Regions from separate parts of the Homo sapiens genome. Here region 1 is linked to region 2. Evidence: promoter capture Hi-C in human tissues and cell types (Jung and others, 2019). All regions are on one chromosome and are shown on one strand. Each heading gives the region's core, a stretch centred on a gene start or on the middle of the fragment in contact. The rest is flanking DNA. Distances are from core to core; before and after follow the strand shown.

Region 1 (6,989 bases), core at 3,748-6,247, 400 kb after region 2:
ACCCAGTACATGCTAACACAAATAACATTTTTAAATGAAAATTAACTATTGAAAACAAAAATTTAGTGAGATGAATGGCATTGTTTTATGCTTTCAAATCTCAGTTAATGCTTGGCTTCATGTAAGATGGCTGGATTCTTGTTTTTGCATCAGACTGTTGTGATGTTTTCATGTATGAAGAAAGCCCATTTACACACAGATAATACAGTTGGAAATAGGAATATTTTAATAGCTTTTCCTAAAAATTGTGGATATTATTCTTTGACACTACACCAAGTAGTAGTTTCTTTAATGCAGTGTGAAATCTGAAACCATAGTATTTAACTTTTCGTCCTCCATTACATTAAAATACATCAGTCTGTCTTGCACTTTGAATGGATACTTTACTCATGCATGATTTTGTAACATCCATGTAGGGTCATTTAAAAAATACTGGTTTGCAGCCGGGCACGGTGGCTGACACCTGTAATCCCAGCACTTTGGGAGGCCGACGCTGGCGGATCACCTGAGGTTTGGAGTTCGAGACCAGCCTGACCAATATGAAGAAACCCCGTCTCTACTAAAAATATAAAAAATTAGCCAGGCGTGGTGGCGCATGCCTGAAATCCCAGCTACTCAGGAGGCTGAGGCAGGACAATTGCTTGAGCCTGGGAGGCGGAGGTTGCAGTGAGCCGAGATCGTGCCATTGCACTACAGCCTGGGCAACAAGAGCGAAACTCTGTCTCAAAAAAAAAAAAAAAAAAAAAATACTGGTTTGCTGAGTTATGCAGGGCTTCCAAGTGTTGATACATTTCACTAATATCTTTCTAAAAACTATTTTTGTTACTATCACCATAGATACTAGCAGAAAGTCTTTATAAGTATTGGGAAGTTGCAAAACTTGTGGTGGATACAAGTTTTCTTCAAACAGGTGTCATGCTTAGTATTACCACAGCAAAAGTGCTTTATGCATATTTCCCATTTCCTCATATAGAATAACAAAAAGATGTGCAAATGAAGTAAATTAATAAAATAATTGTTACTGTTTCATCAAGCATTCTTTAAGTAAAACTGGCTTAAAAAACACAAGTATATGGCAATGAAGAATACAATTAGTACAGTTTAGTGTTACTGCCTTGAATTATGCTAACATTTTTACCCATTATTGTTTTTGCGTCATCAGTGTAAATGGCAACACAGTCAAAAAGTAAAGTAACATCTTAATATTATCATGAAAATAGTTTGACTTCATAGACCCTCTGAAAGGGTCTCGGAGACCTCCCGGGGTCCAAGGCCACACTTCGAGAATTGCTGAACAAGCATAATCTTAAGACTTGGTACATATTGGGTATTCCATAAACTGTAGCTATCATTATTGTGGTGGTACATGACTAAAATAATTTTATACAGTTTTCTGCTTCTCATTTCTACGATAAGTGGGTGATGATGTTCACAAAGTAATTAAAGATACTTTTGTGCTTTGTTGATACATTGGTGGTTGTGACTTTTCTATCAGTATATTGGTGCCCCAGGACCCTTGTGCCTTAGTAAAGGAAAAAGCTCCCTGTAGACCTTCAGGTTCTCAGATATAAAGCACTTGTTCTCCCATAAGGGGGAATCAAAAACTGAGATGGTGTTAGGTAAACTCCTGTACAAATCCAAATGTCTTAGTTCCCTTTTCTTCATCTCTACCTTTTAAAATAATTTTTAGTTTTCAGGGTTTTGTTTGTTCAGTTGGGCCTACTTTATCTGTAGTCTGGACATTAATTTAATTTAATTGTATTAAAGATTAGAGGGCAATAGTCATTTTTATTAGAGCTGTTTTAGTTAAGGTCATGTTTTGTAGAGAGAAATCCAAATGTAGATAATGTTTTACTCTGAACATTAATATTGTTAAAGGCTCTCCAGTGAATTCTCCTAGAATCGTTGTTCAGAGGGAAATAGACCTGCTGTATTTTATGTGGTGCCATATTGACCTTTAGGTTCTAATCAATAGCTAGCTATAATTAGAGAGAGAGAAAAAATGATTAATTTGGTATCTGAAATCTCATGTAGCAGGCTTGGAAGACACTTGGAAGTAACAAAAGTCACACTGTAAATTAGTATAACTTTTTTCATAAGACTTCATTAAAATTAAATTAAAAAACTATTTGGTGCCTATTAAATGTCAGAACCAGGAGAGAAGTTAAGTATCAATTATTAGGAAGCATTATGGCATCATGGTTAAGAGCACGGACTTTTGAGTCATAAAGATCTAATTCTGTAGTATATCGATATATATACTTAACCTTTCTAAGCCACTGTTTTCTCATCTGTAACATCAAGTTGCTAGTCATTTCTTTATAAGGTTATTGTAAAGATTAAATGAAATATCCACTTCTCACAACTTGAGTAAGCAGTCAATAAATGGTAGCTAATTAGTAGTGGTATATTTTATATGCTATCATAATAACCTCCTACCAATTTTAATTCAGTTTAAATTCCTAATATTCCCATGAGGTAGGTAAAATGGATTATCATTATCCCATTATATAAGTGAGGGAACTGAGATTTTAAGAGGTTAAAAGGCTTGTTTACCTACCCATAATTAGTGAGTCCAAACTTCAACTCAAGCCAGCGATCTTCAAATGCAGGGTTTTTTTCACTGTTAACACTTGGTCAGTAAAGATCTTGTCTTAAGTAACAGGGAAAACACATACACAGATCTGCATGACCCAGCAGGAACAGCACTATTCCATCATGGATGACACCCTCAAGTGATAATAAACTGAAGAAATTTTGCATAAAGCATTCCAAAAAGAACTGTTATTTTGAGTTGGGTCTTAAAGAATTCATTTTTTTAAATTGGAAGAGATTACCTTTTATAGAAAGCTTTATGTAAATATAGAAAAGTATAAATGAAATAAATTCTGTAACATAATTTAAATAATTTTGTTTTCCTCATCTCTTCTCCCCACCCCACCCAACCCTAGGCTTTAGAAAAGAACTCAGGAATTTGGAAGCAGGCTATAAATCTCATGAATTCCACCCAGAATCACATTTACAAATAAAAAATCATTTGATAAAAAGGTAACCATATTTTTTTTCCCTAAATACATGTATTATAGGCACGTTGTTTATCAGAAGGGCATAAATACATATTATTACTTTGAAAGCAATGGGTCTATAGTATTGAGATGCCTTTCTTATTGGGAATCATTAATACAATGTGGATCTAAGGATAGAGAGCTTACAAAGTACCAGGTACAGTATCTGATTGTCTGTTTCAATCCTCACAGCATTCTTATGAGGTAGGTGATATTTTACAAGAGAAAATTTGAAGCTTAGGTTAAGTAATGTGACCAAAACTATCGAGCTGAGATTTGATTATAGCTCCATCTACCTAGCAAATCCTCAACTCTCTTTAACCATTGCATTCTAATTCAATTCCACATAATTCATATAAGAAAAATAATTTGCAATATGGCATCATTTACCCTCACCTTAGAAAATAACTATTACCTAAAGATAATCTTGATTACATTATTTTAAACTATTATACAGCCAGGTGTGATGTGGTGGTACATGTCTGTAATCCTAGCTACTGAGGAGGCTGAGGCAGCAGGATCACTTGAGGCCAGTTTAAAGCCAGCCTAGGCAACATAGCAAGACCCTCAAATATAATATAAATATATTTGCAAAATATAATAAAGTAATTAATATACTATACTGCTATATATCAAAATTTAAGTACTTCTACCTCTATTGCCTTTAAAGTTTGGAATGTTGGTGGGGAGATGTTTTAGAGTACTGTTTGACTGTTAACACTTTCCTCAAGTTCTATATATTGTTACAAATAAATGTAATTTTAGTGTTTTGAGTTGAAGTGAGTTTTTAAAATTATATTTCTAATTATTAGAAATGGGATTCTGGTAATGATGGGTGTTTCTGGTAAACACTCACATATTCTGACATAAAGAGTTTGGATTTGGAGAGAGTTGAAAATGTTAATGGTTGCAAATATCTTTCCATTTTTGTGGTTTTGTTGTAAAAATAATATAAACTGTATTTTGGGAAAATCAAACTACAAAACAAATGTTTATTTTCCCCTAGTTTCATATATTTGCATAGGGTGTTCTAGCTTTGTTTTTATTTTCATATTTCAGATCACATGTACATGAAGACAATGGAAAGTTATTTCCTTCATCCAGTCTACAAATACCCAAGGACCATAATGCAAGAGAACATATCCACCAGTCAGATGAACAGAAACTTGAAAAACCGAATGAATGCAAATTTTCTGAGTGGCTTAATATAGAAAATTCTGAGAGAACAGGTTTGCCTTTTCACGTTGATAACTCTGCTTCTGGGAAGAGAGTGAACAGTAATGAACCATCTTCATTATGGTCTTCACACCTAAGAACTGTTGGGTTAAAGCCAGAAACTGCTCCTCTCATCCAGCAACAAAATATCATGGATCAATGTTACTTTGAGAACTCTCTATCCACAGAATGTATAATTCGGTCAGCCAGCAGATCTGATGGGTGTCAGATGCCAAAACTTTTTTGCCAGAATCTACCACCCCCTTTGCCACCAAAGAAATATGCTATAACCAGTGTGCCACAGTCAGAGAAAAGCGAATCTACACCTGATGTCAAACTTACAGAGGTGTTTAAAGCTACCTCTCATCTTCCGAAGCACAGTTTAAGTACAGCTTCAGAACCAAGTTTAGAAGTGAGTACACATATGAATGATGAAAGACATAAAGAAACATTTCAAGTGAGAGAATGTTTTGGCAACACACCAAACTGTCCATCCAGCTCCTCAACTAACGATTTTCAGGCAAACTCAGGTGCCATTGATGCATTTTGCCAACCAGAACTAGACTCTATTTCTACCTGTCCAAATGAGACAGTTTCATTAACTACCTATTTTTCAGTTGATAGCTGCATGACGGATACATATAGATTGAAATACCATCAGAGGCCCAAGCTCTCTTTTCCAGAGAGCAGTGGCTTTTGTAATAATTCACTATCTTAGAGTGAAAAAGGACTAGACCTGTGTTACATAATAATCTTGGTTCAAGCTGCCCTTCTGAACAAAGATATAAACCTAGCATACATTGTAATAGATAACTGGTAAAACTGACCAACTTTTACTTCTCAGAGGCCATTTAAATATAATAGGAACCTACTGACCAAACCTAGTGATACATAAAATTAAAGCCTGTGGCATTTTTAAAGTTGTTAATCACTATACATATGTATGTGTATATGTGTATACACATATATAATTTTATGATCAATATCTTAGATATTTTAGAAATTCCCTTTGAATAGTCTTGGCGTGCCGTGAAAAATAGAAAATCAGGGAGATATAATAATTCATTTGTCATATGCTACAGTTGAATAAAAATTAAATTTGTCCCCCTATTTTGTGGCCAGTAGACTGGGAAGTATTAAACTAACCAGTACTCATGTATGGAGATTATAAACTATGCTAATTGAAAAGTACCAGGTGATACATAGCCTGGTACTTTTTTGTCAAAGAATTGCTTTATGAAGAAGCACTTTCTAATGGGTAACCAGAAAAGGGCTTCACCCATTTGTTTTTGACTTCTATGATAGTCACTGCATATGATCCCTTTAAGTGTCTTTAAAAAAAATGACTTATGAATTTGATAGCATTTGGGGAAAAAAAGCCTTATATGATTAACAATTTGTAAGTTTTCAAGATCGGATGGAATTTAATTTTGCTCCTAGAATTTTTGTCTTCAGAATATCTAGTTAAGATAAATTAGGCCTTTGACTATTATAGGTATTCATAAATGCTACTTTAGCCATGTAAGTTAAAAAGTTAAAATACTTAAACTTTAGTGTATTTATTTATCTCGTTACTTTTTTTCTAATTTTATATGAAATGTGAAAGGTCTTTATTTTGGTTTGGTTTACTTTGGGCTGCTAACCACCAGTGTTAGGAATTAATGTAGGGCACCCTCTTATTGGGAATGTCACTGTAATTGCCTACATTTTCTTTGCTGTAATATTACCTGCTTATAGGTTGTCAACCCATTTTATCTGAATTTGAAAATCTATCTAGGTTTCCAGATTAAATTTCTACCTTTCATATAGAGAGTTTAATTTTAATAAAATGTTTAATTAGAGCATCCTTCCCTTTTATTCTACTTTGAACAAATAGTAATTTTACCCCAACTACTTTTCATGAAGAGTGCTTTGAAAATTAAAGGAATTTTTATTATTATGGTAACCTTATGAGTAAAAATAAGTTACTTTAATTGCTTTATTTCGTTAGTTGTCATTTTATTTTGTACTATGCTGGTAAACTAATTGTGGTTTAGAATAGTTTTATGTTCACTCCTGATAACTGAGAAACAGAACTAAAGTTTTCCTTACATTGCTAAATGGATAAACCTCATATTCAATAAACTAGTAAATGTAGCCACTTGACTGATTGCGTAAATCGTGTTAAAACATTCTAAAATGTTGTAACTAATTTAATGTGAATACTGTTAAACAGAAAATAATTGCTTATAAAAGTCTAACTTCACCCAGTTACCAAGTCTTGGCCAAATTTTATCTTCTGCCTATAGTTTTTACTAGCCTTTTTAAACTATAATAGTGAGTGATCATTACTTTATATTCTCGTAAGTTAGAAATACTTGAATGCCAAATTAATTTTGTTTTAAGAAAGCTTATTTTTAACATAATTTTTTAGTGTGGAGGGTTTGTAAATAATGTAAAGTTTGTAAACCTGTATTTAAAATACCAAAGTTTTTCTTCTTTTATAACATTGTAAGATACTAGAAAAATGGGCTTCAAGTTTTTTAATAGCTTTCACAGTTTGTGTAGTTTTTTTTTTCTATTTGGTTAAGATGTGAGTTGGAAATGTATTATTTGAAACATTTAAACTAATTTTTGTATTTAACAGCAGTCTCAGACATTTGTCTTTTCAACTCAGTTGAGTTGTAGATATCAAATAGAAATGTCCAGTTTTGCCTCTTTTAAGTACTG
Region 2 (7,154 bases), core at 1,060-3,559:
TTCCAGCTTCATCCATGTCCCCTGCAAAGGACATTAACACATTCTTTTTTTATGGCTGCATAGTATTCCATGGTGTATATGTGCCATATTTTCTTTATCCAGTCTATCACTGATGGACATTTGGGTTGGTTCCAAGTCTTTGCTATTGTAATTAGTGTCAAAGCTCATATTTTATGATGTCTCTTGTAACTATTGTTTAAAGGAAAGACTGGGAAAGTCAATTCGTGTTTCTGAAAAGAATCAAACTTGGGATGAGTATCTGGCCCTCATGACCTTCAAAGGGTCTCTTCCAGTGCCACAATCTCTGATTTCATTGTCCTCACTCCAGTGATGAGTCACAAATAAAATCACTTGATGCCTTTGGCTTCTGGGGAGCATGGGCTGTGTAAAATGTTCATTGTACCACAGGTCCTTGAATAATGCCATTTTATTCAACATTGTTTCATGACAACATTGATGAGAAAAAAAAATGTATTTCCAGCTGGGGCCACTGTTTGTATGGAGTTTGAAAGTTCTCCCCATGTCTGTATAGGTTTTCTCCAGGTCCTCTGGTTTCCTGCCACATCCCAAAGCTGTGCTCATGAGATGAACTGGCATGTCTAAATGGTCCCCATCTGAGTGAGTGTGTGTGTGTGTGTGTGTGTGTGTGTGTGTGTGTGCACCCTCTGATGGGATGGTCAGGGCTGTCCAGGGCTGATTCCTGCCTTGCGCCCTAAGCTGCAGGGAGAGGCTCAAGCCACTGGAGATCCTGAATGGGAATAAGTGGGTTGGAGGAGGAATGAATGTATGGATGCAAATTATTTTCAAAAAAAATTCATAAAATATATGTTAATCACACAAATGCACAGCAATAGATGATGCTGTATGAAATTTCTCAGTGAGCCTGCTATATTTGTGGTGGTTTTGAACTGCATTGTGACAGGAGGTACTCCTTATAATTTTCCTTTTGCAAACATTTATTCCTTGATTGAATCCACCACCACTACAGCTGCCCTCACTCACTGATTCACCAAAAATTGGGTCCATGATTATCTTGTTTTTATTAATCTTTCTTAAATGCATGTGTAGCTGACATTTATTTCCATGTTTAATATTAGAAGTGTTTTAATCTTATTTAAAAGTTTGGTGATGTCTTTGTGACCAGAAATAGACTGTAGTCACTTAACCTTGTTTTTATCAATTAGTCGATGGTAAAATTGGTTTTAAAGTCACAGTTTCCATGAACCTATCTGTGACGTTTTAAGTGAGGACTTACTGTATATAGTGCTTCTTAGTGCTGAAACAGGCAGCGTGTCTGGAAATTTTGTTTGGTACCACAAGTAACACAAACAAACTTTCCCAGGCTCTTCCTTATTTAGTATGTTTTTATGTGGATGAATGTTATGGAAAACAAAAGTATTATAGGAAAATTAAAATGTCCTTTTTGTACATTTTTGGCAGATTGTATTCAGATTTAAAACATTTAAATATTTGGAATATACAAAATCTGCTTTTATATTGGACCACCCAGATTCATGACATGGGATGACAAACTATAAAAATAAGAAACCTGTAGGTGACATTGTACATTTTATGCAGTTGACTAACTGTTGGGTTTGGGTTTAAGAAGATCAGCAGGTAGAAAGAAAACAAAACACGTTAAAATTTAACATACCCAAAACTATGCAATAGATGTAATTATAAGAATGTAGTTTCCAGGAGAAAAATTCATATTCATTTTCTCTCTTTCTCTCTCCCTTTCTGTCTCTTCTCTTCCCCTTTCTCTAAATATATGGTTCAGAAAGGTACTTTTCAGAGCTGGAGGTTTATTAACAAAAAGTTTGTGCTTTCTTTTGTTTCCTCTTATAGGAATAATTCAGCAGAATGCAGACAGAAAAGTAGTAATTTAACTCATTTTAACTCTTTTTTGTCTATTCCATTCATAAATGTGGCAAGTCTCAAAACATTTATTTGAGAGAATCTAATCCTCTAGTAGTTGAATTCCCAACGCTCCTATTTTAGGACGTCATTCATGGCGTGGAGATTAAACCTTCATGTGTCCTTTACTATTTACAGAATTATTAAATGTAAGTTTTTCAATCATACTTATACCATTAACTGCTTGGATTTAATCTGTTAGTGCAAGATAACTTTGGCTCTCCCTTCCGTCCTCCTTTCCCTTATCTCGCCCCACGTGAGGACATTCTCCTGTGTGTGAAGCTGCTTTCCTTTCCTCGAAGGTGGGCCGAGCAAAGGAGAGTGACGCAAGAGTGGGCTGTGTCCTGGATGCTGCGAGCGCCTCTGCCTCCTTGAGAATGAGCCCATTAGCCGCACAAATTCGCAGCAGGCGGCTGGGGCGGCGGCTGGGGCAGCGGCTGCAGCAGCGGCGGACGCTCTGCATTACCCAGTCTTGCGTCCTCGGCAGGCGCCCGAAGCTGAGTGCGCATCCTCTACCGCACCCAAGCTTCGTCTGTCTCGTCAAGCTCTTCATGCTGCCCAACTAAAAGGAAAACATGGGCACAGGGGATTTTATCTGCATTTCCATGACTGGAGGGGCGCCCTGGGGGTTCAGATTGCAAGGTGGCAAGGAGCAGAAGCAGCCCTTACAAGTTGCAAAGGTAGGACCTGAACGAAGTGTCACGGCTCTGTGCTAGGAAGGAAGGAATGAAAGCAACCTGCTGATGGTGTTTTCAGGTTCTGATGCAGAAGTCTAAGTATTATTTGATTTTGCTGCGGATATTAAGATTTTTCTAGGAAGTGAGTTATTTTCTAAGAAACTTTGGAGAGTAATGGGCCACATCCTATGTAATTAACTTGCAATCGATGAGGGGTGGGTGGGAAGAATGCCATATTTATCAGCTGAGGAAAAGGCCTAGTTAACCATGTTCTTCTGACAACAAGCAAGACACTGGGGAGCGTTTCTTCCAGGCAATTTTAGAATGTTCAGTTGAGTTATTGTTTGATGTCACTTCACTTGGCTCTGGCAGAGGAGAAACGCTCAGTTCAGCATAACGACTTTGCTTGGCTATTTTGGGGACTCATATAGAGTGTTGGTAGTGACATTTATTATGCAGCATTCATGAAAAGGCCAATGTTGGGCAATAATTTTAAAAGTATGATGAAGTGTCATAAAATCTATTTAAAAGAATACCCTTTTAAGGATTTGACAAATAAATGCAAAAATCCAATAAATGCTGTATTCCTTCTTATGTACTCTTTTGGTCAAGATCTCAAAAATAAACTTAGAAGATAATCTAAATATATTATGAGTAACTAAGAGGTAACTTTGTAACACATTAATAACTATTTAAAATGCTTTAAGTTTTTATTGCCATTAGATTGCCTGCATTACTGGTTAGCCCAAGGGGATCTGGTATTCTCTAATTGGCATTCAGCTAAAATAAAACTTAAAATGCACAAAACTAAGCAAACTTTTACCTAACCTTATCATCAAATTGCAAATTATAGTATTGTATTGAAGAACATGCAAGAGCATGGGATTAATTTCCTATTTTATGCTTATATTAAAAATGGGTACAGATCTTTATGAAATACATGGGCCATTGCCTTTGTAGTTATTGTTTGTTTCCCTCTGGCTTTTACTCTTTTTTTTTTGTAGTTATTGTTTCCCTCTGCCTTTTACGTTTTTTTTTTTTTAGTGTCCTTTGCGAAGAAAGAAGTTTCTTTGAAACTCCTTTTTGCTTCCAGGCATCATATGTAAATCCTTTCGTAATGTGATGGTGGAATCCTGCCACCTAGTGAAAATTGCAAACATCAAGAATGAACCATAAAACAGTAGATGAAAAGCAGAGTTTTTATTACTGGAAAGTTCCTCCGAGGTCTGCAGTTCAACCCATGAATTTTAGATGAGGAAAGAGCCCAGAGATGTTAAGTAACTTGCCTTAAGTTTTCAGCTTGGAACTGGCAGAGTGATTAAAGGCTCAGAAAGGTGGTTTTGTTGGGTTCCTTTAGGAGTCAATAGCAGGCAACCTCAGATAAAATATGAATGCCCAATTTAGCATATGTAGAATTCATGACACTGAAGCAGATTTGTCCTGAGTCTAGAATAGCAGTTGGCTGGCTCTAGGTATGAGATTTGGGTTCTAATTCCAGCTCTGATCTAACTTGCAGCCTGGCCTTAGGAAAATCTCTCACCCTTCCTGTCTCATCGGTTTCTCTCTCTCTCTCTCTCTCTCTCTCTCTCTCTCTCTGTGTGTGTGTGTGTGTGTGTGTAGGGAGAGAGAGACAAATATTTTAACTTAGGTGGTAAAGAAGTAAGAAAGAAATTGGACTGTGCAGTCTACGAAGCTCTGTCTTGCCCAAGTATTCTACGATCCTGATAGTGTACAGTTTTAGAATCGCTTGCCTACTAATTGAAATATGGGGACAGAGTGGCTGAGTGCTGTTGTTCTCTGGTGGCTCTTTGGCAGCCAGGCCTCAAGAATAGAGTGGGTAGTGGGTTTCTTCTGAGTTCTGCATGTGACGATTTCAATGTGGGACCTCTTTGCGGCGATTCACTGAAGAGCTGAAGCAGATTGCTAGGAAAGGGTGCTGTGGAGATTCTCTGCTAATGGCATCTCTATTTTCAGGATTCAGTAAGGTTGTTAGGCTATGTCAGAATCCAGTCCTACACTCCCCCTAAATCATCCTTCCTAAAATACCCAGCAATACATTTGTGGTTTTCAAAAGATCATTATTAAGGCATCTAGATGTTTGCTTTGCTTTTGTAGTTTGTGATACTATACTTAGAGCTATAGATTTTAAAATATCATTATAAAAGTATCTGGAAGTTTGCCTTAATTTTTGTGTGTTTGTGTGTGCAAGAGAGAGAGAGAGACAGACTGTAGTCTACAGTCTACCTTTTGTCCATACGTTAAAAAGACTAAAGAGCTATCTATAGAAGATGTAAGTTCTAAATTACTGTGGCAATGCACAATTTTTGTTGGTCTTTTTCTTTTTTTAGTTCAAATGATTATGTTTGATTTCTTATACTAGCATTATTTGTGGGAGAAATCCCTTGGAACAAAGCGCTTATCACTTTCTCTGTTATCAAGGCCATTGCCTCATTAGGATCACTGTATTTTATTTAAAATATTAAGTCAATTCAATTCTATTCATGGTATCTCAATGTGTTCAAGGCAAAGTGAATGTTGCTTGGGCATAAACTTTCTCTTCTTGTAAGGACTGGTGATAGCTTATTAGGGCTGGATGCAAGGAAAGAGACAGAAAGGCTAGAGAGATGGTTGCTGTCAAATCAAATGTTCACAGTTTTGAATAACATGCACAAAATTAATTTGGGAGTTGAAGGAAAACTTAAATTTTCAAAGAAAAGAAAATTTCGGCGAGTGCTTGAACCATGCTCCTTAAAATGGGAATGCTACAAAGCAGTTCTGTAGACAATAACACATTTTGGCTTTTTGTGAAATATCTACATATTTAGGTTTTTCATAATTCTATATAGAGTAAAAATCTAACAGGCAGAAATAGTGCAAAAAAACAGTCTAATGTTATTAAGAACAATAAAAAATTGAATAACTTTATAATTCCCGATAAATATCCTTATATTGACATATTTAGTCACTTCTGAGATATGTTCAAACATGTTTAGTATTTGGTTAGCTGGTTGAACTATACGCAAACCCCAAATTTTAAAGATAAATAACAGGAATATTCATTATCAAAACTTGTCATTGACGGTTAAGCTCAATGGCACGAAAATCTGTTTTGTTTTAAAAAATAAACCAAATTTTTAAAAGCCCAAGTAATCAGTAACATAAGCTTGTTTTTAAAATGTTTGTATATCTTTTAATTTATATTCTAAATATATGTGATGGGAGGCAAACATTTCTAACACTGAGTTATAGCATAACACTCTGCAAAGTATATTTTCAAGAGATTATAAACAGAAACAAATTTATCCAAACAGAAAACCCCACTGTGTGTGCAGATAGCTTTACAAAAAGAATGTGAGCACTTCTTCTTTATGAAACTCTCTCTTTTGGGACATGTACTTATCTGGCCCTGTCTCAGGACATACTTTTGGCAAATCACTTTGAAAAATCCTCATATAAAGGAGTGGGGAGAAATTTTTGTTTTACAAAAAATCTTACCTGCAATTGAAAAATTACTCACATTTTGAAAATAATTAAGAAAAAAATGTTCAGACTGTTTATCCTTTATATGTTTTAATATAGTTAGAAATTTATTTTTTCTTCAAATCTTATGCACCACTATAGTATGTGTTCTACTGAATTTAGTTCAAAGTTTCAAATAATTGTTCATTAAAATTGAGGTGACATTGTATAATCCTTCATTTCATAAGGCCAAAATGAATTTAATAATTCTTATCTATTATTGGATATGTGTTCTTTAAGATTTTGAATAAAAATGTATTATTTACACAAAGCACATTTCAGATAATATAATTCTTATCCCTTAGTGCCATCAGTAAGGTTTTTAAAATGTTTCAAATAGAAGAATTCCAGAAACATAGGTATTTCTAAAGGGGGAAAAAGATTTTAATGTGTTTGAATATGTATACTTGAGAATAAATGCTCCTTCCTATATATGAAAACTGGTAATATCTTTATTAAAATATGCTTAATCACTTAATCTTTAAATTGATTTTAAGCCCTTTCTAGGAATTTTAAACACAGACATGCTTATAGAAGTTAGTGTGCTCTAGATAAATCTATTAAGTAGGCGATATTAAAAAATCCTTATTTTGGAATTGTATATTTTAAGGGAGGTTTCTGAAAGATGACAATGAGATAAAATATTCATTATGCATGAACTTTGCCATTAGCTGGACGTAGCACATATGTAGCTTACATGTGTCAAGCCCTTGCTATGTGCCAGGAAAATTTGCAAGTGCTTTGCTAGTATTATCTCTTCAAATGTTCCTCAAAACCTAAACAGTAGGTATGAAAAAATCCTCATTTTAGAGATGAGGAAATTGTGGCACAGAAAGGCTACATTGCTTGCCAATGGTTAAGCTACAAAAAATGATGAGATTTGATTTTTCTTCTTCCTTATTGGTGGAAACAGGTGCCCGAGAGGATAAAAGTAGGTTAAAGTGGTCCCAAAAGGAAAGATTATTTAAAATAAATACCATAGTTTGTACCCAACCTTGATTTCATTATTGGTCTGGGGTTCACCCTGGACATCAGGATTTA

Evidence for each region. The method cuts DNA at HindIII sites, captures the fragments that hold promoters and counts their contacts. A contact is called where the count stands out against the background at its distance.
Region 1: a fragment that was not itself captured here is called in contact with the fragment with the promoter of SYNPO2 in region 2 in 1 of the 25 tissues and cell types used here (aorta).

The regions. Positions count from the first base shown.
Region 1 is chr4:119,288,214-119,295,202 of GRCh38, forward strand. It overlaps USP53 (ubiquitin specific peptidase 53), which reads left to right. Exons shown (of 19, transcript NM_001371395.1): 18 at 2,952-3,048; 19 at 4,125-6,989. The coding sequence ends at 4,998. Among named protein-coding and RNA genes, the nearest start is that of ARLN, 8.9 kb to the right of the region's middle. The HindIII fragment of the contact is 3,844 bases long and covers 3,076-6,919 here.
Region 2 is chr4:118,886,545-118,893,698 of GRCh38, forward strand. It overlaps SYNPO2 (synaptopodin 2), which reads left to right and starts at 2,310. Exons shown (of 5, transcript NM_133477.3): 1 at 2,310-2,597. The coding sequence starts at 2,493. The HindIII fragment of the contact is 17,765 bases long and covers 1-4,100 here.